Regions from separate parts of the Homo sapiens genome. Here regions 2, 3, 4, 5 and 6 are each linked to region 1. Evidence: promoter capture Hi-C in 16 types of primary human blood cells and fetal thymus (Javierre and others, 2016). All regions are on one chromosome and are shown on one strand. Each heading gives the region's core, a stretch centred on a gene start or on the middle of the fragment in contact. The rest is flanking DNA. Distances are from core to core; before and after follow the strand shown. Region 1 holds the start of GPRIN3 (GPRIN family member 3). Region 2 overlaps MMRN1 (multimerin 1). Region 3 overlaps MMRN1 (multimerin 1). Region 4 has its middle 3.1 kb from the start of MMRN1. Region 5 has its middle 25 kb from the start of MMRN1. Region 6 holds the start of SNCA (synuclein alpha).

Region 1 (4,043 bases), core at 929-3,428:
TGCTTAGCATATTTATGATATGAATACTATGATGACATAAATATTATGCCACAACCACTCCTGTCATAAAGATGTCCTTTTAGAAGCGGCCTAGTGTAGGGAAGATGACCCAGCTCCCTTCGTCTTCAACCAAAATGAACATGGCTAGCCGGAGAACCCAGACAGAGCCAGAGAATCCTTCTTAACCCACCTTCAGGAAGCAGCTATCAATTAACTACACCTGGCATAAAAGAAGAAACTTATTTAAAATCCCTGATCTAGGGGCTTAGAAAGTTTGATCTTTTTTTTTTTTTTTTAATACTTTAAGTTCTAGAGTACATGTGCACAACGTGCAGGTTTGTTACATATGTATACATGTGCCATGTTGGTGTGCTGCACTCATTAACTTCTCATTTACATTAGGTATATCTGCTAATACTATCTCTCCCCCCTCCCCCAACCCCACAACAGGCCCCGGTGTGTGATGTTCCCCTTCCTATGTCCATGTGTTCTCATTGTTCAATTCCCATCTATGAGTGAGAACATGCGGTGTTTGTTTTTTTGTTCTTGTGATAGTTTGCTAAGAATGATGGTTTCCAGCTTCATCCATGTCCCTACAAAGGACATGAACTCATCCTTTTTTGTGGCTGCATAGTATTCCATGGTATACATGTGCCACATTTTCCTAATCCAGTCTATCATTGACGGACATTTGGGTTGGTTGCAAGTCTTTGCTATTGTGAATAGTGCCGCAAAGTTTGATCTTTTGGCCAGTAGCATGGGCATTACCTGGGAGCTTGTTAGAAATGCCTATCCTGGGCCAGGCATGGCTCACGCCTGTAATTCCAGCACTTTGGGAGGCCGAGGCGGGCGGATCACCTGAGGTCAGGTGTTCCAGACCAGCCTGGCCAACGTGGAGAAACCCTGTCTCTACTAAAAATACAAAAATTAGCCGGGCGTGGTGGTGGGCGCCTGTAATCCCAGCTACTTGGGAGGCTGAGGCAGGAGAATCGCTTGACCCCGGGAAGCGGAGCTTGCAGTGAGCCGAGAGCGCGCCACTGCACTCCAGCCTAGGAGACGAAGCAAAAAACAAAAAACAACAACAACAAAAAACTAAAAAAGCGTTTCCTCAGTCCCTACCCCAGACCTATTGGATCACAATCAGCATTTTAACAAGACCCCCTAGGTGAGTCCTGTGTACTAGATGAGAGGATATATTTTGGATTGGTTTGAATCCCAGCTGAGCAGGTTACTACTGTGTGACCTCAAGCAAAGTGTTTAGATCATATAAGCCTGTTTCCTCGTCCACATGGTAAGGCACCTCAATGGGTTGTAGTAAGAATTAAAGAGGCTGAGGCTGTATGTAAGGCATTTTTCACAGAGCCTTCCAACAAATACCCAGTTAATAATGAAGCTCTTTTCATCGTATCATTTTGCACCATCTACAGCTGCTAACCATACTACACATCCATTCAGGATTCTGGAGCTGCTCAACAGGGAAGATTTCCAAAGCCCTCAAAGCCCTCCAAGCCCATGGGGTAGCGGGAAGGGGATGGGGACAGGAACACTGTCAGCAGTGCCTCTCCGAATACGCAGGATACTGTACATTTTGCAAAACATATTACTTATCGGATGATCTTGCTTTCAGATCTCCACTGCACGTGGCTTTATTGGAAACCTTCTGCTAGAGTCTAGACTCAGCCATGGAGTCTGGTGACCTGTGGGAGGGAGCAAGGGCCAGAATGCCTGCTAAATCGCTCTGGGTCCCCAGCCCTCTTCCTTAATCCCTTCTTAACTTTCCATCTGTCTCTGGTCTCCAGGGGTGCAGAACCACAACCCACCAGACCCCTCCTAGCTCCCGGCCCGGCGCTCAGCAGCCTGGGCTGCAACACTTTCCCCCAGGACCGGGAAGGCGGGGGAGGGGGTTTGGAGGGGGCGGAGCTCGGCCTCCTGCTGCCGCCGCTGCTGCTGCCGCCGCCGCCGCCTGCAAAGCTGTCGCCCCTCTCTCGGATGCTCAGGCTGGGCAGCGCTGGACAGATGGGTACACCCCGGGCCTGACGGATGAACAGTCGGGCAAGTGAACTCTCACCTCCAAACTGGCTCTGCGCCCGGCGGGGGCGGCGGCGGCGTCTGCAGCCCCGCGGTGGGGGCAGCCCCCTCGGTCTACGCCCGACTGCTGCGCGCCGCCTCTGCTCTTGGCATAGTAATTTCAGTTCCTGAACGCACGGAGCTCGCTCCGGGACCGGGCTGAGAAGGACCTCAGCTCGCGGGCCCGCCGGAGCCATCGGTGTGGCGCCGAGAGACGGTGCTTGGGATATGCGACGGGAAGCCCCCGCCACAGCGCAGGCAGTGGCCCCGCCGCGCCGCGGAGCCGGGCAGAGCAGGTAGGAGACGCCCCCTGCGCACCTCCGCCTGGCGGCCAGCGCGGGGGACCGGAGCCTGGTGGTGTGCTCTGTAGGGATGCGGAAGGGATTCGGTCCCACATTTTGCACAGGGATCCTTTGCCTGTTGCTCTTGTCTCTGTCCCATCCTGCGCTCTAGGAGGGGCAGTCTTTCTCGCAGGTGATGAATTTCTCTGCAAGGTCATTGCTCTCTTTGGCTCTGGCTTTGAAGGTAAATGGGAGAAGACGCCTGCTGATCGTGGGCAGGGAAATTTATAATCAATCGGGTCTGCACACTGCGAATATCCGAATATGAGGGGTGTGTGTGTGTGTGTGTGTGTGTGTGTGACATTTGTCTCATTTTCCTATGCTTATCCCCTTTAAGGTCAAAACATAGAAATATATATTACATATGGATGTATGTATGTGTGTGTATATACACACACATACATAAATGCATATGTAAATAGGTTTTCTTGAGGTAGGCAGAAAGAAGAGGAAGGGCGGGCAGGGGTTGATAAAGGGAAATCGTTGTAGAGACATGTTCACTAATAGAGGCGAACTTTGGAACCACATTAAATCAGGGTAGAGACTAGAGGTGATAAACGGTTCTTTCAAGATGGGCTTTAGAAGAGGTCTGAAGGAGCCTGTCAGCCAACACACACAGAAGATCTTCATGCTCTCCAGGCAGATGGAAACGATGTAGGCATCATTTCAGACGCAATAATGGACAGTGAAAGAGGGAAAAAAGGAGAGGTACTTAATATGCCACTGGGAAGTGAATTTTGGGTGATGGGAAGGCATCGAATCCAGACCAGGTTTCAAGGGCTTTCTGGAGGGCCATTGGGAGAAATCACCGCTTGGGGTGTAGGCAGTTCAAGGTTAAGACGATGTGAATGTCCACAAAGCAGCCGAGGAGGTGGGCAAAAGGCAAGGGCTTGGAGGGGGAGGGGAGAAACAGAGCTCTGAGCAGTCACTCAAGAAGCACCCACCTTTGAGTAAGGTGTCTTCTTCCTCTTGGTTAAAGCGGTACTTGGGTATGCTCCATCTAAATATTTTCACAACACATTTGTTTAAAGATCCATTGGACTATGTTTTTATTTTGTTTTTGCAAGGTATCTGGGTCATGGTGGGACTAGAAGAAACTGAAGTGTTTACAACACCAGCAAGATTTGGGAGAGAGGGTTGATTAAGGCTTTGCTTCATGAAATATTTACACATCTCCTGCGTGGGCTTTTGTTTGCTCTTGTTGGTGCTGCTGCATATTTTACTTTGATAATGCTTTGAGTGTACTTCGCCCGAATGTGCTTATTTTCCAGTTATAACCTATTCTTTCTTTTCCCATTGTGCTCACCATTGGCCTGCCCTGAGTAACAATTGTGGGAATAAAGGTACATGAGTCACAGCCCAAAGCAGAAAATCTCTGCTGCTATCTGCAAAAGACAGGAGTTTGCGTTAGAGAATGTTCTTTTTCGAGTTTTTGTGTGTGTTTAGTTTTTCAAGTTTTGTGTGTCTTTAATCGAGGGAATAGGTTATTGATTCAAAAGAGAAAAAAAAAACAGCAATTGCAATTGCAGGCCTAGATGTTATATGATTGAAATTTATTTTGGAAACAGCAGAGGAACTCATGGAGAGCCATGTACAGTGTGTTGTGGTGTGGTGAGCCTTCACCTAATCACTAAC
Region 2 (4,043 bases), core at 1,012-3,511, 620 kb before region 1:
TCAGGCCATTGTTTCAGAGGGTGCAAGCCCCAAGCCTGTGGCTTACATGTGGTGTTGGGCTTGAAGGTGCAGAGAAGTCAAGGATTGAGGTTTGGGAACCTCCACCTAGATTGCAGAGAATGTATGAAAACACATGGATGTGCAGGCAGGGGCACAGCCTTCATAGAGAACCTCTGCTAGGGTGGTGCAGAAGGGAAATGTGGGGTGGGACCCCCCACACAGTGTCTCCACTTGGGCACTGCCTAGTGGAGCTGTGAGAAGAGGGCTACTCTCCTGCAGACCCCAGAATGGTAGATTCACTGACAGCTTGCACTGTGCATGAGAAAAAGCCACAGACCTTCAAAATCAGCCCATGGAAGCAGCTGGAAGAGAGGCTGTACCCTGCAAAGCCACAGGGATGGAGCTGCCCACCACCATGGGGACCCACCTCTTGCATCAGTGTGACCTGGATGTGAGATATGGAGTCAAAGGAGATCACTTCGGAGCTTTAATATTTGACTGCTCCACTGGATTTCGGACTTGCGTGAGGCCCGTAGCCCCTTTGTTATGGCCAATGTCTCCCATTTGGAATGGCTGTATTTACCCAATTCCTGTGCCTGCATTATATCTAGGAAGTAACTAATTTGCTTTTGATTTTACAGGTTCATAGACAGAAGGGACTTGCCTTGTCTCAGATGAGATTTCAGACTGTGGACTCTTGAGTTAATGCTGAAATGAATGAAGACTTTGGGGGACTGTTGGGAAGGCATGATTGGTTTTGAAATGTGAGGACATGAGATTTGGAAGGGGCCGGGGTGAAATAATATGGTTTGGCATTGTCCTGACCCAAATCTCATTTTGAATTGTAGCTTCCATAATACCCATGCATTGTGGGAGGGACCCAGTGGGAGATAAATTGAATCATGGGGAGGGATTTTTCCCATGCTGTTCTCATGATAGTGAATAAGTCTCACAAGATCTGATGGTTTTATAAAGGGCAGTTCCCCTGCACATGCTCTCTTGCCTGCCACCATGTAAGACGTGGCTTTGCTCCTTCTTCATCTTCTGCCTTGATTGTGAGGCCTCCCCAGCCATGTGGAACTGTGAGTCCATCAAACCTCTTTTTCTATATAAATTACCCTGTCTCAGGTTTTTTTAATAGCAATATGAAAATGGACTAACACAATAATCAATGACTATAATGTAAAATACACACAATACAATGCAAAGCATTTTAGACAGGAAAGTCTGTACAATGGGATATTGCCATCAATTATAGCTACTATGTAGTCTATTAAAGAAAGATCATCCTAGGATTAAAAAAATAGGCTCCACATGTCTCCATTTTGTAAGTAAGTTTTTAACATACATGAGGGACTTACATAAAAATATGTGAAAGAGTGATTATTAAAAATAGAATGATGTATTGTTTGAGCATCTTGATATTGACAATTTTGTACAAAAACGAAGCTGTAAATATGAAAATTTAGATGGATAAACATTTCTCTGGAAATCCTGCACCCTAAAGATCCATGTTGCCAGATGAAAATAAAATGGGAAAGATATTTTATTTTACTTTTTATAAACTTAGTGGAAACTAAAGTAAGTTTAAAAGTCCAAAGATCAATTTGTATGTAATGGAAAAAAGAAAACAAAACATGAAATATAGAATAGTAATCAATATGACACACAGCCTTAAAGTACTAAGGAAAGGCTAAATGAATTAGAAAAGACTAACTAGCCACAATTAAGATAAATTATACAGAAATAGTCCTAGCTTTTGTATCAAATAACATGGATAATCACACCAGAAAGGCTTTAAAGCATTTTTATCTTCTACATTTTGCTTAGCATTTAACCAGTCACCCATTTATTCAATAAATATTGATGAAATACATTCTATATGCTATATAGAGTAAGTAAAATTTAGAAAATTCGATTTCTGGTCTTACAAAAAAGAATATGTAAGTATCATTGAGTGTAAGGTACTATTCAATAGTAATATTAATATTACTCTTTCTATAAGAACATTTAGTCATTTCCCATTAGTTAAAAATGACTCTAATTCTCATGACATCAAAAGCTTGATGAAATATAATAAAATATTTAAGGTTCAGATTCGACCTTCTTTAAATTTATAATCTTACAGTTTTTCAAGATTGAAAGGTACAATAAAATTTAGGCTTTATTGAATTTATTAGTTGTGGACAATGACAATAAATGTTTAACTTCAGCAAACAAAAAACTACATGCCTAAAAGTCCTAATAAGAAAAACAATAAGCAAAAACTCAGCACAAAATCTTGATCAACATAATTGGGAGAAAAAACAATGAAAATGAGTAATGTAAATTACTTTAGCTGTTACACTTTAACACTTTTATGGAAAAATACTTTGAAGAAAGTGCAAAATCACAGCAATGTCTGAAAAGATATTAAACATATTATTAGCTTAAAAATGTGTTTTGGGATCAGAAGCTTTTCAGGTAACATTTCTACAATTTGTTACTAAACAAGCATCTGTACAAGAATCTGATTTCCCAAGAACATGTCAAAGTGCTTTATGTTAATAGTTGAGTGGGCACATCATTTTAATTCTGTTTGTTTCTGTTTCCTGTGACTCATATGCTTCCACTTTCTTAGAAGCATATTACATTTGGTGACTTACCAGATATATTTGATATCAGATACCTTAGCATTCACCTTCTGTAATTGTGAATGTATGGCCTTTTAATAACATTTAGGTACCTCTTAAGGTATCCACCTCCTCTTACGGAGTTGAGACATTTGATTTTCAACAGTTTCTATGGCTACTGTCAGATTACGCAGTGTTTTTCACCTTGGATGTAAAGTAAACTAGGGAGGAAGCTGTGGTTTCGCTAGGCAAGCACAGCACCTTGGAGGTGGGTTTAGTTTTTGTTTCCTGTAAGAATATTCATTAACTACAAGCCCTCTGGTTCTTATAATTAATGACTGTGCTCAGTACACAATTAATTCCTCCTATTGCGGAGGGAGTTTCATTATTAATGCTGTTGCTGTGAGTGTGTGATTTTTCTCCTGTGTCAGTGCCAGAATCTTTGTAGTAGGCTGGTAGGTCACAAAAAAACAGTTGACAGGCTAATTCTGTTAGGTCATGAGAACCAAATCTTGCTAAACAAATCTCATTCAGATGGTTATAGTCAATTACATACTGTTTCTATTTGACTTCTTTCTCATGCTGTCACTTCAGGGGGGAAAAATGTTTCCTTCTCATGCTCAGCATTGGTAAGGTTGGGCCATACCAGATATGTAGGACAGGGTCTTTCTTTTAGTGGTTGAGTAGCAGCAATTATTTATATGATTAAAAAACATAATTGTTGTTGAGCTATGTAAGCATCCATACTGGTAGATGATATATTAAATATCCACCTATTTATCTTTTTTAAATCAATAGAGAAAAGATAACTTGTGAATGATAAAAATTGGGTTGTACACTGAGTTTTTTAATGAATAAAGCAAAAGGAAAAAAAACAGTAATCCTGAAACTTGCAAACAGACAAGTTTCATACAATAAACCCGACTGGGACGCTCCCAGGAATCAAACTAACTGCATGCCTAGAACATCCTTGCCCTACCCGAAACCTTTCTGCATGGTTAACATCAATTGAGATGGTTTCTCTTTCTAGACGCTTTCCCTGGTCCCCTTAGATTGGATTTGTTGCAAGTGTCAAGTGGTCCCATTGTATCCTGTGTATAACACTATCATAACAATTACTCACTATACATAAATCTCTGTGGTAGGCAGAATAATACACACCCCTTTCCCCCAAGGTGTCCATATGCTAATTCCCTGTATCCATGAATATGTACCTTACATGGCAAAAGGGACTTGGCAACTGTGATTAAAGTTAAGCACCTTGAGATAGAGAGATTTTTCTGATTATCCAGGTAGGTCCAACGGAGTTACATAGTCAGAAAGATGCAGGGAGAACTCAACACAATGTAGCTGGCTTTAAAGATGGAGGATGATGAGTCAAGAAATGCAGTGGCTTCTAGAAGCTGGGAATGGGCCTCAGTTTACAGACAT
Region 3 (4,043 bases), core at 935-3,434, 600 kb before region 1:
TTTTAACAATTCACCAATTCTAGACACAAATATGTTTTACCATTGTGAGTATATATTTGTGTACTTCATGGAAATCAGAAATCAGGGCCATATTTGGGTCTTTTTAAAATATGCTAAATTCCTTATTTCCAAATATTTTCAGCATAGATTATATTTTATTTAAAAGTTTATTTTACCTGGTTATAAATGAAGTACATATTCATTCTGTAGTCTGAATATAAATTGAATTTTTATAACATCTTTGAAATTCAGGCCAGACCCAGAACAAATAGCATTATGGTGAAATTTGCCTGTAGATTCTCATTGTATAGGCTAGTAAAACCATAAATAATATCCCTAACTAAAATGCAGGATTCCTAGAGCTTTTGTATTATAATTTTCTTTTTCTTAATGTGAGCCATAACGGTTTCTCCACAGTTTTATTAATTTTTAATCACAGTCTCTTATACTGTTGATTGAATTCCCCACCACTGCTAATGGCCTTTCTTGTAATATTCATTCATTTAAAATATGTATGCTGATGCTGTATCTTATTTTTCAAAGGAAACCTGTTTAAAGCCAAAAGCAAAATAATAGTCACATGGATATTAGGCCACAGCGGGTTACCATGTGTTTGATCAGCCTTGCCACCAGAAAGTCCTTAAAACCTCAGCTGAAAAAAAAAAAATAGCTCCATTAGAATTTTGAAAAAGAGAGAATTATTCATGACATACCTTGTATGTCCTTTAATACTAAATTTCATTCATATGCACATTATTTCAAATAACTGAACTGGAACAAAACTAGATGGTAGTCTTATTTTTATATTGAGTCACTTCTAATAACACTTTATTTAAAAATTGAAAATTAGCATTCCTGATATTTTAATAAGGCATGCCTCTATAGCTTGTTGTTAAGAATAAGTAAGATCTTTCATCAGATTTCCATTTGCTCATCATATAAATCCAACATAAAAATGGGGGGAGAAGTTAAAGAATAGCTTATGAGATTTCAGAGTGTTATAAAAGCTACCAAGTTAGAAAGCTTAGAAAGTATAACAGTCCTAGGAGTTTGGCTACATGTTAATTTACCTTGGTTCAAAAGGGGAAATGCTATTCTTTTCTTCAATAGAATCAGTTTCTTATTGTTCAGAATTGTGATTATTAATATTAGAGTGTACCTCTTAGTTGACATTTCGGCCCACTGTATCCAGGACAGCACCTCCAATCCAATGAGGTGACAATTTTATGTTGCATCCTATAGACAGGATTGGATATCTTCTGAGATCTAGAGAGTTGAGCAATTGGAGGGAAATCGATTATTTGTTTCACATTAAATTATCAGCCGGAATAATAAATGTAAAGTTTTTGGGGCAATGCCTACAATATAACAAGCATTTATTTAGTATCGGCTGTTATAATCATAATATTCATCATCAATATTATTGCCTAACTTAGGTTTCTTTCAATACATTACAAAAAGCATTACTAGTTATGGTATTTGGTATTTTAAATTGATACCTGCCATTGACTTTCTAAAGATATTATAGCTTTTCTCTTGATAATACTTCTTGCTAAATCAATGTTAAAATTTATTTTCATTCCAATTTTAAAGTTATATGGAGATAATTTATTCTACTTCAATTCATATGATTTCCTATATTGTTATATTTAAAAAGATCTGTATTTCCTCCAGATCAGTATCAAACAACTTGAAACAAATTGGATATTCGTGATCTAATTGAAATTATGACAACCACTATCATTTTCCCATGGAATTTTTCATCTTCAAAGTTTTGAAATTATGCTACCTACTATTTTTGTCATATAGTATTTCTCTGAGAGAGAGAGAGAAGGACAGAGAGAGAGAAGGGATGTAATATGAGGAAATTTTATTTTTAAGATGAAACCATAGAACAGCAGAAAAGAAATATGGAAACTATAGCAGTTCAACACAACAATCAATATAGTGACTGCTACTAAATTGTGAGCTCTGTGTGTTTGTAAATGTAAGTCATAAGTACAATTTGGCCATATTAGTCTTACCCATGTGACTTTAATATTTAGTTGCTATTTATCAAATGGGTCTGTAAAATGGGTACATACTATCTTGCTTAATTTTCATTTTAGTTTATGATGAAGGCATTATTATTATCCTCATTTCCTGACGAGGAATCCAAAGAACAGAGAGATGAAATAACTCTCTCAAAGTCCCATATCTAAAAGGGGTAGAGCTGTGATTTTAGCCCATGTCATGTGGGCTAGCCTCCCTTGTTATTATCCTGGAGTTTGCCACGTACAACTATATGGAGACAACAGTCACCTACATGGGTAAACCGTGAACATGTGGAGCAATAGCATTATAACAGACCGGCCTTTAGAGACTTACGTTTCAGTTTCTGCTATAACATGACAGGTAACCGAGTATGTCTGAGGCTATTTGTCAGTTGCAAAATGAGCTACAAGATCCCTTCCATCTGAAAAGCATGCTAATCATTTACCCTCATTTATTTCACTAAATCATTCTGTCTAGTGAAATACTATCTGCACTCTCATAGTTAAAGCTAAGTAGGAAGCAAAGCAATTTGGAAAGGGACTGTATATAGAGTTTGTAAGGATGAGCTCAGGCAGTTAGTTGAACTATTGTTGGGGTCAATGTTCCTGCTTTGGCAAACTGAATATCTGTTGCATGTAGCTCAGACATAATAAAAGAAAAAGTGGCAATTATGACACGAGTATTAAAAATAGCGAATGAATGCACCCACTCAGAAGGCATAAAAAAGATAAGATTCGAGAATAAAGATAAATACTTATGGTTTGTTTAAAGAAAAGAAAAAAATAAAAAGAGCTCACCTTGAATCCAGAAGGGCAGTATGCTAGGGGCTACTGTGGTAAATTTTTTATTACTAAAGAATTAGCAATGCATTCTTTGTGTCTCGTATTGGCAAGGAAATTGTCACAAAGAGAGTGAGGGCTGAAAACAGAACTAGAGTTCAGCTCTCCCAAATCCCTAAGATGTGCTTAGGTCTCTGGACCATGAACCTTAGCTATTCCTCAAGGGACTAAGAAACACCTTGATTTTATGTATCCTTATTGTGCACTGTTCCAGATTGCCATGTGTCAGATTCATTGCCTGAGTTATTTGTATGACTATTTGCATAACATTAGCCATCATGGCCTGAATAACAATTGGAGTTTTTATTGCAGGCTCTTTGGAAACACCCCCAGCTGAGCTACGGTGACTACATGAATTCAGATAATTTATCAATTACTCAGCCCCATCTTTTAGGACAACAGCATAGACTTTTTTAAAAAATGATAATCAAATGACATGGCTAATTACAATAGACACAAGAAGAAAAGCTTCACCTAGCTGCTTTTCCATGCATAATTGTAACTAGAAGCTCTCCTAATTTTAGAATATGAACCAAGTTATAAACTTCTTTCTGACCTAGCATGAAGAGAAAATAATAAATCTTCAAAACTGTGCATGAAATTCATAAGCAATTAAGGACAGGATTGTTGACCAGATATAGAGTAAAAGTAATAGTGATAGTAAAAATAGAAATAAGCATGATAATTAACATTTATTGAATGCTTATAAGGCACAAGGCACTAGGCTAAATATAGTATTGCATTATCTCAAATGATTCTAAAAATGACCATATGAGGCAAATATTATTAGTGTCTGCATTTTCACTTACTAAAGCATAATGTGACTACCATCCCCTGACCCTACTATGTATTATGTACCTTGCATGAATAACATTATATATTCCCGGCTATAATTTATTATGGTGCAAAAACAGTGGCTATTTTCAAGAAATATTACATACCTCTGAGGACAGGATCCACCGGTCCAGCCACAAGGTCCTTTCCCACCTGGGACATAAGTGACCTGGTTGTCCAATATCACTGTGGGAGATAACCTGGTATGTACATAAGCACACCAATTCCTAAAGAAGATCATAATTGTTAGGGAAAAAACTGTTGTCAAAAAAGAATTCTTTTCATCAAAATTATTTTCACAGACAAACATTTATTTTTGCCATACTATAGATCAGA
Region 4 (4,043 bases), core at 911-3,410, 580 kb before region 1:
CTTATGTGCTAGGATTATAAGGAAAACAAAAATATTCTTTGCTGTCAATTTGCTAAATGTCTGTTATGTTATTTGGAAGCTAAATCCATGTGTAACCCATTTTTCTGTCAACTTCTGTGCCAGGCATTATGCTCTTGCTAAATATTCAGTCATTGATTGTTAAACTATTATTAGATTTTATTTTTTGTTATTAGATTATTAAGTTCCGTCTTTCAAAATTAGAGAATTGGAAATCTAATGCCTGCTTGGTTATGTTTTATTGTAGATATTTTCTCTAGTCCTTATTCCTGGACACAGTGCACCAGGATTTGAAATAAGGCCTAATTCTTCCTTGAGCTACTAACTACTTGGGATTAATATTTTTTTCTTCCCTCAATCTTTGCCATTTATTTCCGTAAGTGTATTGTTGACCTACTAGAGAGTATTTATTTAAACTAAGACAATCATCAGCAACCCCAATCGACTCTGATATGGAGTAAAAAGCATCCGTTTCTCAGATATACCACAGAACAATCCACAAACCTTGCCTTAGTAAAGGAGCAAAAAGGTCCAGCAGAGACAATCCAGGAAACGATTAGTTACTAAAAAGAGCAAAAGAGCAATGAAACTGCACAACTGTCACAATACAAACATGGTTTTCAGTAGAAAGAAAAAGGCTTTACAGTGTCTTTATCTGGAAAACACAGAAGAAACTAGCTTTGGCTTATGGAAGAGCAGTAATTTCATAAAATTTAGGAAAAATGTTCCTATTTATATTCAATTTTACACCAATTTTCCTAGCTTTAGTAAAAATAGATGAATGGACTGTCTTGAAGATTTACAAAACTGCCAAAATAATGACATTCACTGATTTTTTGTTTTCTTCTACAGTTTGAAAGACTGTTCAAACCTGGTCTGGCAAGTGAACTTTAGTGGTAAAATGTCACCCATTGGATCTATAACTGATAACAAATAGTTATCCAATGATAATAAAAACTGAACAAAGCTAAGCAATTCATTTAACCACTTATAAGGTATTGACCAATAATGACTTTTGCTCACCCCTATCCTAGCTTACAAGGGACCCTGAAATCAAAAGGCTAAAGGTTCTGTATCTCACTATTGATCTACTAAGCCATCTTGCACTTTAACTCCCCAGAGAATCTCAAGCTCATTTAGTGATTTTGGGTATATGGATCAGCCCTTAATTAGAGGTATAAAATACTCCAGAAATTGTCAGAGACCTTGTCTCAAATTCTTCTTTCTGAGACTAATTAATACTCATTAAATAACAATTAAGAAAAATAATATTGCTGAGATGACTGGCTGAAGAGTACTCAGTTTACTCATTCTTCTAGATACTATTATACTAGATACTAGATACTAAAATACTATTGTTGGATTAAACTATATCATCAGTTTTGTATAACTGGACCCTGTCATTTTGCTATACCTCCCATTTCCCACTTGGTTGTTCATATTAAATTATGTTTTACCATCTTGCCATTTGTTCACCATGAATATTTTATAAGATAAAAATCATGAAATTTATTATATTATGAGTTATCAGGAGATTTTTATGTCATTTTTCATTGTATCATAAACATAGGATTCACTATATACTGCAACATGGGTTGTCTGTAGGTGATGAGATAATGGGTTTGGTTCTTTTCCACCTTATAATGCATATGAATTAATTTTCTAACCACAAGAAAAAAAAACAAAAAAAGATTATTAAGTTAAAAGAAAATATAAATGTGAGTTAAAAGAGAATCTTAGATTGAGGAGTTCACTGTAGATGGTGCTGTGTACTATTCAAAGCATTTTTATAGCTGCAAGACTTATTCTTTGTAAAATGTTGGGGGTATGGGCTAACTTCCACCAGATTAATAGGATTTTTCAGCAGCTGTTTTCTTCATTTTTCACATGAGAAATTCCTATTTTCTTAAAATAGTTTAAAACATCCAAAATATGATTTCATTATTACCTTCCTCCATAAGACATATCTGTCAAAAAATAATAGAAGAAAACAAATTTTAGAGCTTTTTCAATTTAATGGTGTTTGAAAAATATTGAAAACCTGTCAAATTTACATGTGGACAAAGGGGGTTATCAACATACAGCAAAAGGGCTGGAGAAGAAGAGAAACTGATTTCTGCATGATTTTGATGAGTCGATGTGCTAGGTAAGTTAAATTTGGCATATTATTTAATTCTTACAAACATGTTAGGTAAGTATTCTATTCTTGTTATACTCATGGGAAGTTAAACTTAAAGAAGTTAAATAACTTCCTAGGGTAACACATTAGTAATTGTTAGAACAGATATTTATGCCCAATCCTGATTCAATAGGTATTCGGTAAATATTTGTTGAATCAGTGAACGAATAGATGAAGCTATGACCATACTCCTATGTATAGTGATAACAAATGGGTTGAAGAGGGCTCTATTTCACATTATTATAGCCACACAAAAGAAAAAAAAAGTAATCTAAATAAATATAATGAACTTGTTCCGGGAACACACCTTCAAAAGTCTTCTGAAATACCCATTCAGTCAGATTGCCTCCTGTAAGTTACTCCTAAAGAAAATTCAGAAAGCCCATTGTTTCTATATTATCTATTCTCAAAATAAATATGAGAAGGTTTATTTTGAAGCCGTCACAGCCACATTAGAATAATAAACCAAAGACTGGGAGTTGTAGAATAAAAGATAATGAAGCAGTAGTGATGCTAGAAAAATTTAAGATAAGCAAATAAATTGGAAGTAAGAAAATTTAGGTTTGAGTGGGCTGGCAGGAAAGGGAAGATGGACAATTAATGAATTATATAATTCTTAATATTAAGTGAGAGAAACATATTAGTTTATCAGGAAAAAAAAACAACATATTTGTCCTAATATTAAAATTTTAACTTTATAAGATCATAAGGAACATACTGATAAAGATGACCAAATGCCCCTCATGAGAAAATGAATGTAAGAATAGTTCACAAAACCATGTCATTGCTGATTTTATATTTCCCATTTACGCAGAACAGTACCCTTGAAGTGAAAGAGTTCAAAACGCATTTCTTTTGATCATTTTAGAAATAACCATATTTTCATTTTCTTAATGGAAAGCTGTATCTGGTTATCAAGTGATTATCATTAGTGACTTCCACTTCTGGAAATATGGAATAGACATATCTCCCTATTCCTTCTGCTAAGTACATCTGAAAATATGGACATTATATATAGAAAAAATAGAATAAGACTCTGAAGAGTGGAGAAAAGAAGGCAGAATGGCTAGGTGACCCAAGGAACAATGAAGCACTGAGTTCCCAAGTTTACTTTTGCCTCATTTCTGGGTACTGGAGAATTTGGCAAACTAGGAACGCCAATGGGCAGAAACAATAAAAGCCCCAATAAAAGCTCTCTTTAGGCCAAGGACTAGAGAATTGTCAGCCTGGAAAGAAGAGAAAGTTTTTAGAAAATAACCACTCTACTCCCACCATAGAGCACAGGGGAAAAAAAAAAAAAAAAGCAAAATAAAAGACAAAAGAACCCACCCTTGCCAGCAAAGCCTGAAGGGAGAATTAAACTTCCACCTCATGAGGTTATAACAAGGTGTCCCAACCCTCATTCTTCTGTTGGGGTAGTCTCAGAGAAGGCCAACAGAGGAGCCAGAAATTTCTTCATCAAGAAGCCTCGCCTGAGTACACTGCCATGGCTCTCCAAAAGCTGAGTGAAAAGAAAAGAATGAAAATCAGTAGCTTCAAGGCATGGCAGGTCTTCACTGAGTGACTTTGGAGGAAAGGTCCTCCAAAGGCTAGAGATAAGGCAAGAGGTTGGAAAGATGTCTTCCAAGGTATAGAAATGCAGGGGTGGGTCTGGAAAGAAATGAGAATGTACTAGAGATTGTTTTAAAAATGATTTTTCGTTGCAAGTAGAAGAAGATTTTTCATTGTAAAGTAGTGTTTTAATCATCCTCTCTTCACCCCATTGGTGAGGGAGGAATTCCCACCCTAAGGTTATAAGAATGGGTGAACACATGATGTCTAGTGTTGAATTGATGAGATTGGAAGC
Region 5 (4,043 bases), core at 881-3,380, 560 kb before region 1:
AAAAAAGGGATATAGAAGGGAAAGAGAAGAAGCAACAATAAAAAAATATTAAATGAAGATAACTAGTCACTTAAAAAGCTCTCTTGTTTTGGTTTTCTAAACTGCTTTTTGACTAGTTGGCAGTGTGTTTGGGGTAAGTTACTGGGCCTATGTTTTGTTAGATATAAACTGAAGGGGCTCCACTCATGATCCCTAGATGCTGAGACAAAGTTCCTTAGTAAGTAACGTCAATGATGTCTTCGAAAAATTTTAGCAACCTGTCGTAGGTGACAAATAGCCAGAGAGAGGGAAGGCCTGATGTGTATCACTTACCAGTTCTGATCAATTTCCACTGTATAAATATTCCCTCTGTGGCTACTTTGGTGGGCTACCAACATGATCCTATGAAATAAGATTTATAATTTAATTCCATTGTGTTCAGAGAACATGTATTGTATGAGTTGAATTTAAAAATATTTTTTGAGCCTTGTTTTTTGGTGCAGGATATGGTCTATCTTGTAAGATGTCCAATACACATTTGAAAATACTGTTTATTCTGCTGACATCAGGTGTAGTGTTCTAAAAATATCAATTAGATCAAGTTGATTGATAGTGTTATTTAAGTCTTTTATATCCTTACTGAATTTCTGTCCACTTATTTCATATATTGTTAAGGTGTGTTGAAATCTGTAACTATAATCATACATTTGTCTATTACTCTTCGTAGTTCTGTTAGTATTGGCTTCTTGTATTTTCATGTTATTAGATACCTGGAATAGGCAGAATTCTAAGGTGGTCCCCAAGATCTTGCTCCCTGATGTGCATGCCCTGTATAATCCTTGGAGATTATCCTCAGTGAACCTGGCCTAATCAGGTTAGTCCTTAAAAGGGACAAAGGTTCTGGTGAAAGACATTCAAAGTATTAGAAGAATTCCATGTGAGAAGGATTCCTTGTTCCTGGCTTTGAAAACAGAGGGGGCCATGTGGCAAAATAGAGTTGACCTCTAGGAGCTGAGTGACCTTCAGCTAACAACCAGTGAAGGAATGGAGACCTCAGTTCTATAACTGCAAGAAATTGAATTCTGTCACAGCATGCGGGCTTGGAAGAGGCTCCTGAAATCCAGACTAGAATACAGTCTAGCTGCCACATTGATTTTACCTTTTGAAACTGAATCGAAAATGTTATGTTGAGGCTTCTGAGCCACAGAACTGTGAGCTGATAAATGGGTGTCTTCTAAAGACATTAAGCTTCTGGTAATTGGTTATGCAACAAAACAAAACTGATACAGTGCATAAACATTTTAGATTATTATGTCCTCTTCATTAATTGAACACTTTATCATTATGAAATCATCTTCTGTATCACTGGTAATAGTCTTTGATATGAAATCTGCATTGTCTTATATTTAATATGTCCATTCCACCTTTCTATGATAAATGTTCGCATAGAATATCTTATTCCATCTCTTTACTTGTAACCTAATTATGTTTTTATATTTAAATTGGATTTACCGTAGACAGCACGTAGTTGGGTTTTACTGTTTTATCTAACCTGATATTGCGTGCTTTTTAATTGCAGTGTTTAGACTTTTACATTTAGTGTGATTGTTACATGTTGAATTTAAGCCTCCTGTCTTGTTGTCTTATATTTGTCCTAACCGTTCTTTGCCTCTCCTCTTTTTTTCTTTTCCTACCTTCTTTTGCATTAATAGAGTATATTTTATGATACTACTTATGATTCTCCTTTGTTGGCTTATTAGCTATAACTCTTTATAGACTCATTTTAGTTTCTGTAGGGTTTATAGTGTCCATCTTTAACTTATTACTGCTTACCTTCGAGTAATATTATACTACTTATTGTAAAGTATAAGAACTTTACAAAAGCATACAATTTAAAATTACCCTTAGAATGACTACAGAGGACAATCTAATTCTAAAAAGGAGTTTACAATTTCACGTGTAAATTTAATAACATTGGAAAACACTGCCTCAAACTAAGTTGAAATAAGCTACTATGAAATGTTAAACTACTTCTGTGAACAACAGCATTAAGAAAGTGGTCTGAAATGTAACCCAGGCTAAGGATCCTTCTGTAACATTGCAAACTTAAATTGTTCAGAACTTTCCTGAATTTCCTTTTATCTGTTAGTGTGTTAACAATTTTATTATACCAACAAATCTGTTTGACAAACTGTGGAGAAACAGTGACAGAGATGAAGCAATAAATAATGTGTATATGCAATATATTAGCTTATTATGAAAAAAATAAAATAAAGTTCAACATATTTCTTTGAAATTACAAAGCCTATTATAGAATTGTTTTTTTAAACACTGAAGTAAACACTTAAAATTTTTAGTAGTAAATTGATCACAAAAACCAATCATGTGTAATTTGAACTATCTTTTTTCCTTGTAAATGTAATGGGAAATGTTCCCTTGTCCCCCTTGCCAGGGCGTGCGATGGGGGTGTGGCTTGCTTCTTCTTAATAAAGGTATTCTTTTACTTTTCCCTGTATCTGTAAGATTAATTACATAAAACATTTGAAACATTAGGTGTATTTAAAGAGAAGAAATTATAAAATTCACATTATCATAAGTTAAATATTTTGAAATATTAATTTTATTCCTCCAAGTGTAAGATATATATTTATGTGTTGCCATAGTCACATGTTTACTCATAGTTGAATTTAATCTACTTGTGTTTCTGAGGCTAAGAATGACTTTTTTTAATTAAAAAAGAAAGAAGAATAGGAAAATTTTTTTAGTGAATCTAGAATTATCTTCATTATTTGGAACTAAAAGCCACTCTTATCTTAACAATGGAATGTAAATTAAGGTGCATTATCTTTCAAAACTGAAAGTATCTTTATCTCTGATATCTATTATTTTACTTATTATTTTAAAGCATAATCTGAACTAGGCATATTTTTAATAGTTGCTAATTTTTAGGCAAATACGTCATATTTATAACAATTTCAAGATTCTACATGTTAATCAGTATAAAAGAGATGACAAACGCCTTTGTATGTGGAAATACAGCATGAACAAAGCTTTGTAACTTTTTCTCTTGAATAAATTGAGAACATGGACAAAATTAGTCTTAACCTTTTCTTGAAAATTAGTAGAGAAAGAAATTGTAGCTTTTAAGGGCATGCAATTTTGTTTCTAAACAACAGATGGCACTATCAAATTCTAGATTTACTAAAAATTTTTTCTATTTTTCTCCCTTTTTTAAAATTAAAGAAAGTCATAATAACTGTCTTAGCTTCAGAAACACAAGTAGATCAAATTATAGAATTACAGCCTTTACTGGCATTCAATCTTGAAGAACAATATTTGTAGGATCTTGAATAAAATACTGCTTTTTCAAAATTAACACTTGATGGTAGTTAAAAAGCTGTTTGATCAAATTTTAGAAGTATTAACATCAAAACAAATGAAATCAATGCTCATAATTGATTTACACCAATAGCAACTGAATTCTCCACTTTACAACTAGGATATTCTCTTCTGAGCATCAGTAGAGATAAGGATGTTCTGTGAGGGAAGAGGCTGACCTGGACTACACTAGAACTGAGTAGCCTCTGGGAAGCCCAATATCTGACAGTCACATAGAACTTAAAATGCAAATCAGGTCAAATAATAAAATGATCAATTTGGTTTTTTTTCTTTCCCTCAAGAACTATAGTCAGGGTAGGACATTTGGAGACAGAGCTGAGAAGGAAGAATGATTTTTAAAAATGGTTTTGTTCTCACAGAAAATAAATGCCCCAGTCTGGTATAGGAAAAGCAGACTCATTTATTGTAGAATTTTGCTATGGGCATGAGTTCTTTGGCAGGAGTGCCTACAGTCAGCAACTTTATCTCCATGACTCCCCTATTCTGGTTCACTCCATAACTGCCAAGTAAGGCTGGAGGTAAAGTTGCCAATTTCAACCATTTATTTATCTATGTGTTCTCTTATATCCTACTCTCAGCAATCCTAGTGAAATACCAGTCTGTTGTATCAAGTATTCTTTCTTAGAACAACCTTCTAGAAATTTAGCCTAAAATATTCTTGATCT
Region 6 (4,043 bases), core at 664-3,163, 530 kb before region 1:
AGCTGAAAAGATATATATAAAGCTTGAATTTGGTAAAAAAAAAAAAAAAAGAGGGAGGATTGGTAGTGATAAAGTGAGTGGACTTATGGATGAGACATGATCAGCCATGCATTGAAAAAATGTAAAAGTTGGATGATCTTCACATGAGAGTCCTTTATTCTGTCTACTTTTGCATATGTTTGAATATTTCCCATAACAAAAAGTTGAAAATAGAGTGATCACATGAGTTAATCTCCTAATTTACAAAAAAGAAAACTGGAAACAGAAGGAGAACAAAACTTGTTCAAGGTCTCAAAGCCAGACAGCAAACTAGCTCCCAAGTCCAACCTTCTTGCTCTGGTCCTAAGCAAACAAAAAATATTAATATGAGCTACTGCATTAAGGAAAGTCTGCTTTTCCAAAGGGCAGACCAATAGTTCAAGGAAGAGTTTAAATAATAAATATTTGTGATCTTACTTTCATGCTTTTCTATTTTCCACTGAACACATATGCATTATCTTCTATATGTCTTTTATGTATAATCATTTGCTTCCTGTTCCTTGTGGTTTTAAAGTTGTTTTGTATGTTTAAATTTGATTTTACTCAAATTTCAGAACCCAAATTAGCGCAAGAATCAGACAAAGCATAACTTTCTATAAATATAAAAACAATTAAAAAAAAAACATACAGCAAAAACGAGTTGTTGTTTCCCCCCTCCTCTTCCAGTGCTTAACTAATCTTCCGAATCCAGGCACAGAAAGCAAAGGCTTTCTGCTAGTGGGAGGAGCTTGCTTCTCCATTCTGGTGTGATCCAGGAACAGCTGTCTTCCAGCTCTGAAAGAGGTGAAAATGTGTTAAGCGATGCAAAAATTGTCTTGAAGTTCGCGTGTGTATGTCTGTGTGCATGTGCGTGTGGTGGGTGGGGGGAGAGAAAAGGGGGTGTCAATTCTGAGGGCAACGAGAATCAGAAGTCAGAAAGGTGAGTGGTGTGTAGCATCTCCCTTTCAGAAGGGGCTGAAGAAGAAATTGGATATGATGGTCCGGTAGGCTAAATCACGCTGGATTTGTCTCCCAGATAAAGGGAGGTCTGCAAAGTAAGTCCCATTTCTAGAGCGAAAAGCCTTAGGACCGCTTGTTTTAGACGGCTGGGGAATATTTATTCCTTGTTCCACTGATGGGAAAATCAGCGTCTGGCAGGCGCTGATTGGTGGAAAGGAAAATGGTGATAGTGGCGTGGAAAGAGGATTTGCTGAGCCTTCTCCTGCCTCCTCAACCTGTGACTCTTCCTTAGTAGTCTCCCTTTCACCCTCAGGACCCTTTCCGGCTCTTCCTAGATTAAGAGCAAACGAAAACCTTGAAGATATTTGAACTAAAGCGACCCCTAACGTTGTAACCTGTGACCGTGATTAAATTTCAGCGATGCGAGGGCAAAGCGCTCTCGGCGGTGCGGTGTGAGCCACCTCCCGGCGCTGCCTGTCTCCTCCAGCAGCTCCCCAAGGGATAGGCTCTGCCCTTGGTGGTCGACCCTCAGGCCCTCGGCTCTCCCAGGGCGACTCTGACGAGGGGTAGGGGGTGGTCCCCGGGAGGACCCAGAGGAAAGGCGGGGACAAGAAGGGAGGGGAAGGGGAAAGAGGAAGAGGCATCATCCCTAGCCCAACCGCTCCCGATCTCCACAAGAGTGCTCGTGACCCTAAACTTAACGTGAGGCGCAAAAGCGCCCCCACTTTCCCGCCTTGCGCGGCCAGGCAGGCGGCTGGAGTTGATGGCTCACCCCGCGCCCCCTGCCCCATCCCCATCCGAGATAGGGACGAGGAGCACGCTGCAGGGAAAGCAGCGAGCGCCGGGAGAGGGGCGGGCAGAAGCGCTGACAAATCAGCGGTGGGGGCGGAGAGCCGAGGAGAAGGAGAAGGAGGAGGACTAGGAGGAGGAGGACGGCGACGACCAGAAGGGGCCCAAGAGAGGGGGCGAGCGACCGAGCGCCGCGACGCGGAAGTGAGGTGCGTGCGGGCTGCAGCGCAGACCCCGGCCCGGCCCCTCCGAGAGCGTCCTGGGCGCTCCCTCACGCCTTGCCTTCAAGCCTTCTGCCTTTCCACCCTCGTGAGCGGAGAACTGGGAGTGGCCATTCGACGACAGGTTAGCGGGTTTGCCTCCCACTCCCCCAGCCTCGCGTCGCCGGCTCACAGCGGCCTCCTCTGGGGACAGTCCCCCCCGGGTGCCGCCTCCGCCCTTCCTGTGCGCTCCTTTTCCTTCTTCTTTCCTATTAAATATTATTTGGGAATTGTTTAAATTTTTTTTTTAAAAAAAGAGAGAGGCGGGGAGGAGTCGGAGTTGTGGAGAAGCAGAGGGACTCAGGTAAGTACCTGTGGATCTAAACGGGCGTCTTTGGAAATCCTGGAGAACGCCGGATGGGAGACGAATGGTCGTGGGCACCGGGAGGGGGTGGTGCTGCCATGAGGACCCGCTGGGCCAGGTCTCTGGGAGGTGAGTACTTGTCCCTTTGGGGAGCCTAAGGAAAGAGACTTGACCTGGCTTTCGTCCTGCTTCTGATATTCCCTTCTCCACAAGGGCTGAGAGATTAGGCTGCTTCTCCGGGATCCGCTTTTCCCCGGGAAACGCGAGGATGCTCCATGGAGCGTGAGCATCCAACTTTTCTCTCACATAAAATCTGTCTGCCCGCTCTCTTGGTTTTTCTCTGTAAAGTAAGCAAGCTGCGTTTGGCAAATAATGAAATGGAAGTGCAAGGAGGCCAAGTCAACAGGTGGTAACGGGTTAACAAGTGCTGGCGCGGGGTCCGCTAGGGTGGAGGCTGAGAACGCCCCCTCGGGTGGCTGGCGCGGGGTTGGAGACGGCCCGCGAGTGTGAGCGGCGCCTGCTCAGGGTAGATAGCTGAGGGCGGGGGTGGATGTTGGATGGATTAGAACCATCACACTTGGGCCTGCTGTTTGCCTGAGTTTGAACCACACCCCGAGTGAGCAGTTAGTTCTGTTGCCTACGCCTTTCCACCATCAACCTGTTAGCCTTCTTCTGGGATTCATGTTAAGGATACCCCTGACCCTAAGCCTCCAGCTTCCATGCTTCTAACTCATACTGTTACCCTTTAGACCCCGGGAATTTAAAAAAGGGGTTAATCTTTTCATGCAACTCCACTTCTGAAATGCAGTAATAACAACTCAGAGGATTCATCCTAATCCGTGGTTAGGTGGCTAGACTTTTACTAGCCAAGATGGATGGGAGATGCTAAATTTTTAATGCCAGAGCTAAAAATGTCTGCTTTGTCCAATGGTTAAATGAGTGTACACTTAAAAGAGTCTCACACTTTGGAGGGTTTCTCATGATTTTTCAGTGTTTTTTGTTTATTTTTCCCCGAAAGTTCTCATTCAAAGTGTATTTTATGTTTTCCAGTGTGGTGTAAAGGAATTCATTAGCCATGGATGTATTCATGAAAGGACTTTCAAAGGCCAAGGAGGGAGTTGTGGCTGCTGCTGAGAAAACCAAACAGGGTGTGGCAGAAGCAGCAGGAAAGACAAAAGAGGGTGTTCTCTATGTAGGTAGGTAAACCCCAAATGTCAGTTTGGTGCTTGTTCATGAGTGATGGGTTAGGATAATCAATACTCTAAATGCTGGTAGTTCTCTCTCTTGATTCATTTTTGCATCATTGCTTGTCAAAAAGGTGGACTGAGTCAGAGGTATGTGTAGGTAGGTGAATGTGAACGTGTGTATTTGAGCTAATAGTAAAAAATGCGACTGTTTGCTTTTCCAGATTTTTAATTTTGCCCTAATATTTATGACTTTTTAAAAATGAATGTTTCTGTACCTACATAATTCTATTTCAGAGAACAGTTTTAAAAACTCATAGTCTTTTAAAAAATAATCAAGAATATTCTTAAGAATCAAAATCATTGATGGATCTGTGATTTCTTTTACCATCATGAAAAATGTTTGTCAATTTTAATCCATTCTGATTTTTAAAATATGACTTTGATATGCCCCTGTGATGTGTATAAAGAGACCTATTTGTGGCCCTAAAATGGAAAGAACAGATTAGTCTTTGATAGAGTTACTTC

Evidence for each region. Contacts are between HindIII fragments. The CHiCAGO score rates a contact against its expected background, and 5 or more counts as called.
Region 2: a fragment that was not itself captured here is called in contact with the fragment with the promoter of GPRIN3 in region 1 in 2 of 17 cell types (total CD4 T cells and naive CD8 T cells); the score reaches 6.2 in total CD4 T cells.
Region 3: a fragment that was not itself captured here is called in contact with the fragment with the promoter of GPRIN3 in region 1 in 2 of 17 cell types (total CD4 T cells and naive CD4 T cells); the score reaches 6.1 in total CD4 T cells.
Region 4: a contact is called between a fragment that was not itself captured here and the fragment with the promoter of GPRIN3 in region 1, in 6 of 17 cell types (total CD4 T cells, monocytes, fetal thymus and 3 more). The highest score is 7.1, in total CD4 T cells.
Region 5: a contact is called between a fragment that was not itself captured here and the fragment with the promoter of GPRIN3 in region 1, in 1 of 17 cell types (fetal thymus). The highest score is 6.4, in fetal thymus.
Region 6: a contact is called between the fragment with the promoter of SNCA here and the fragment with the promoter of GPRIN3 in region 1, in 14 of 17 cell types (fetal thymus, monocytes, total B cells and 11 more). The highest score is 16.1, in fetal thymus.

Annotation. Positions count from the first base shown.
Region 1 is chr4:89,305,935-89,309,977 of GRCh38, reverse strand. GPRIN3 (GPRIN family member 3) reads left to right here and starts at 2,178. Exons shown (of 2, transcript NM_198281.3): 1 at 2,178-2,363. RefSeq lists silencers at 2,099-2,168, 2,179-2,228. The HindIII fragment of the contact is 16,857 bases long and covers 1-4,043 here.
Region 2 is chr4:89,928,643-89,932,685 of GRCh38, reverse strand. The region is part of intron 5 of MMRN1 (multimerin 1); the gene reads right to left. Among named protein-coding and RNA genes, the nearest start is that of MMRN1, 36 kb to the right of the region's middle. The HindIII fragment of the contact is 393 bases long and covers 2,065-2,457 here.
Region 3 is chr4:89,909,167-89,913,209 of GRCh38, reverse strand. It overlaps MMRN1 (multimerin 1), which reads right to left. Exons shown (of 8, transcript NM_007351.3): 2 at 3,815-3,934; 3 at 1,160-1,266. Among named protein-coding and RNA genes, the nearest start is that of MMRN1, 16 kb to the right of the region's middle. The HindIII fragment of the contact is 2,318 bases long and covers 1,026-3,343 here.
Region 4 is chr4:89,889,691-89,893,733 of GRCh38, reverse strand. It overlaps a transcript of MMRN1 not described here. Among named protein-coding and RNA genes, the nearest start is that of MMRN1, 3.1 kb to the left of the region's middle. The HindIII fragment of the contact is 5,697 bases long and covers 1-4,043 here.
Region 5 is chr4:89,868,308-89,872,350 of GRCh38, reverse strand. No RefSeq gene overlaps it. Among named protein-coding and RNA genes, the nearest start is that of MMRN1, 25 kb to the left of the region's middle. The HindIII fragment of the contact is 1,802 bases long and covers 1,230-3,031 here.
Region 6 is chr4:89,835,031-89,839,073 of GRCh38, reverse strand. SNCA (synuclein alpha) reads left to right here and starts at 1,913. Exons shown (of 6, transcript NM_000345.4): 1 at 1,913-2,112; 2 at 3,382-3,527. The coding sequence starts at 3,407. It overlaps SNCA-AS1 (SNCA antisense RNA 1), which reads right to left and starts at 2,673. Exons shown (of 4, transcript NR_045481.1): 1 at 2,340-2,673; 2 at 668-813. The HindIII fragment of the contact is 7,659 bases long and covers 25-4,043 here.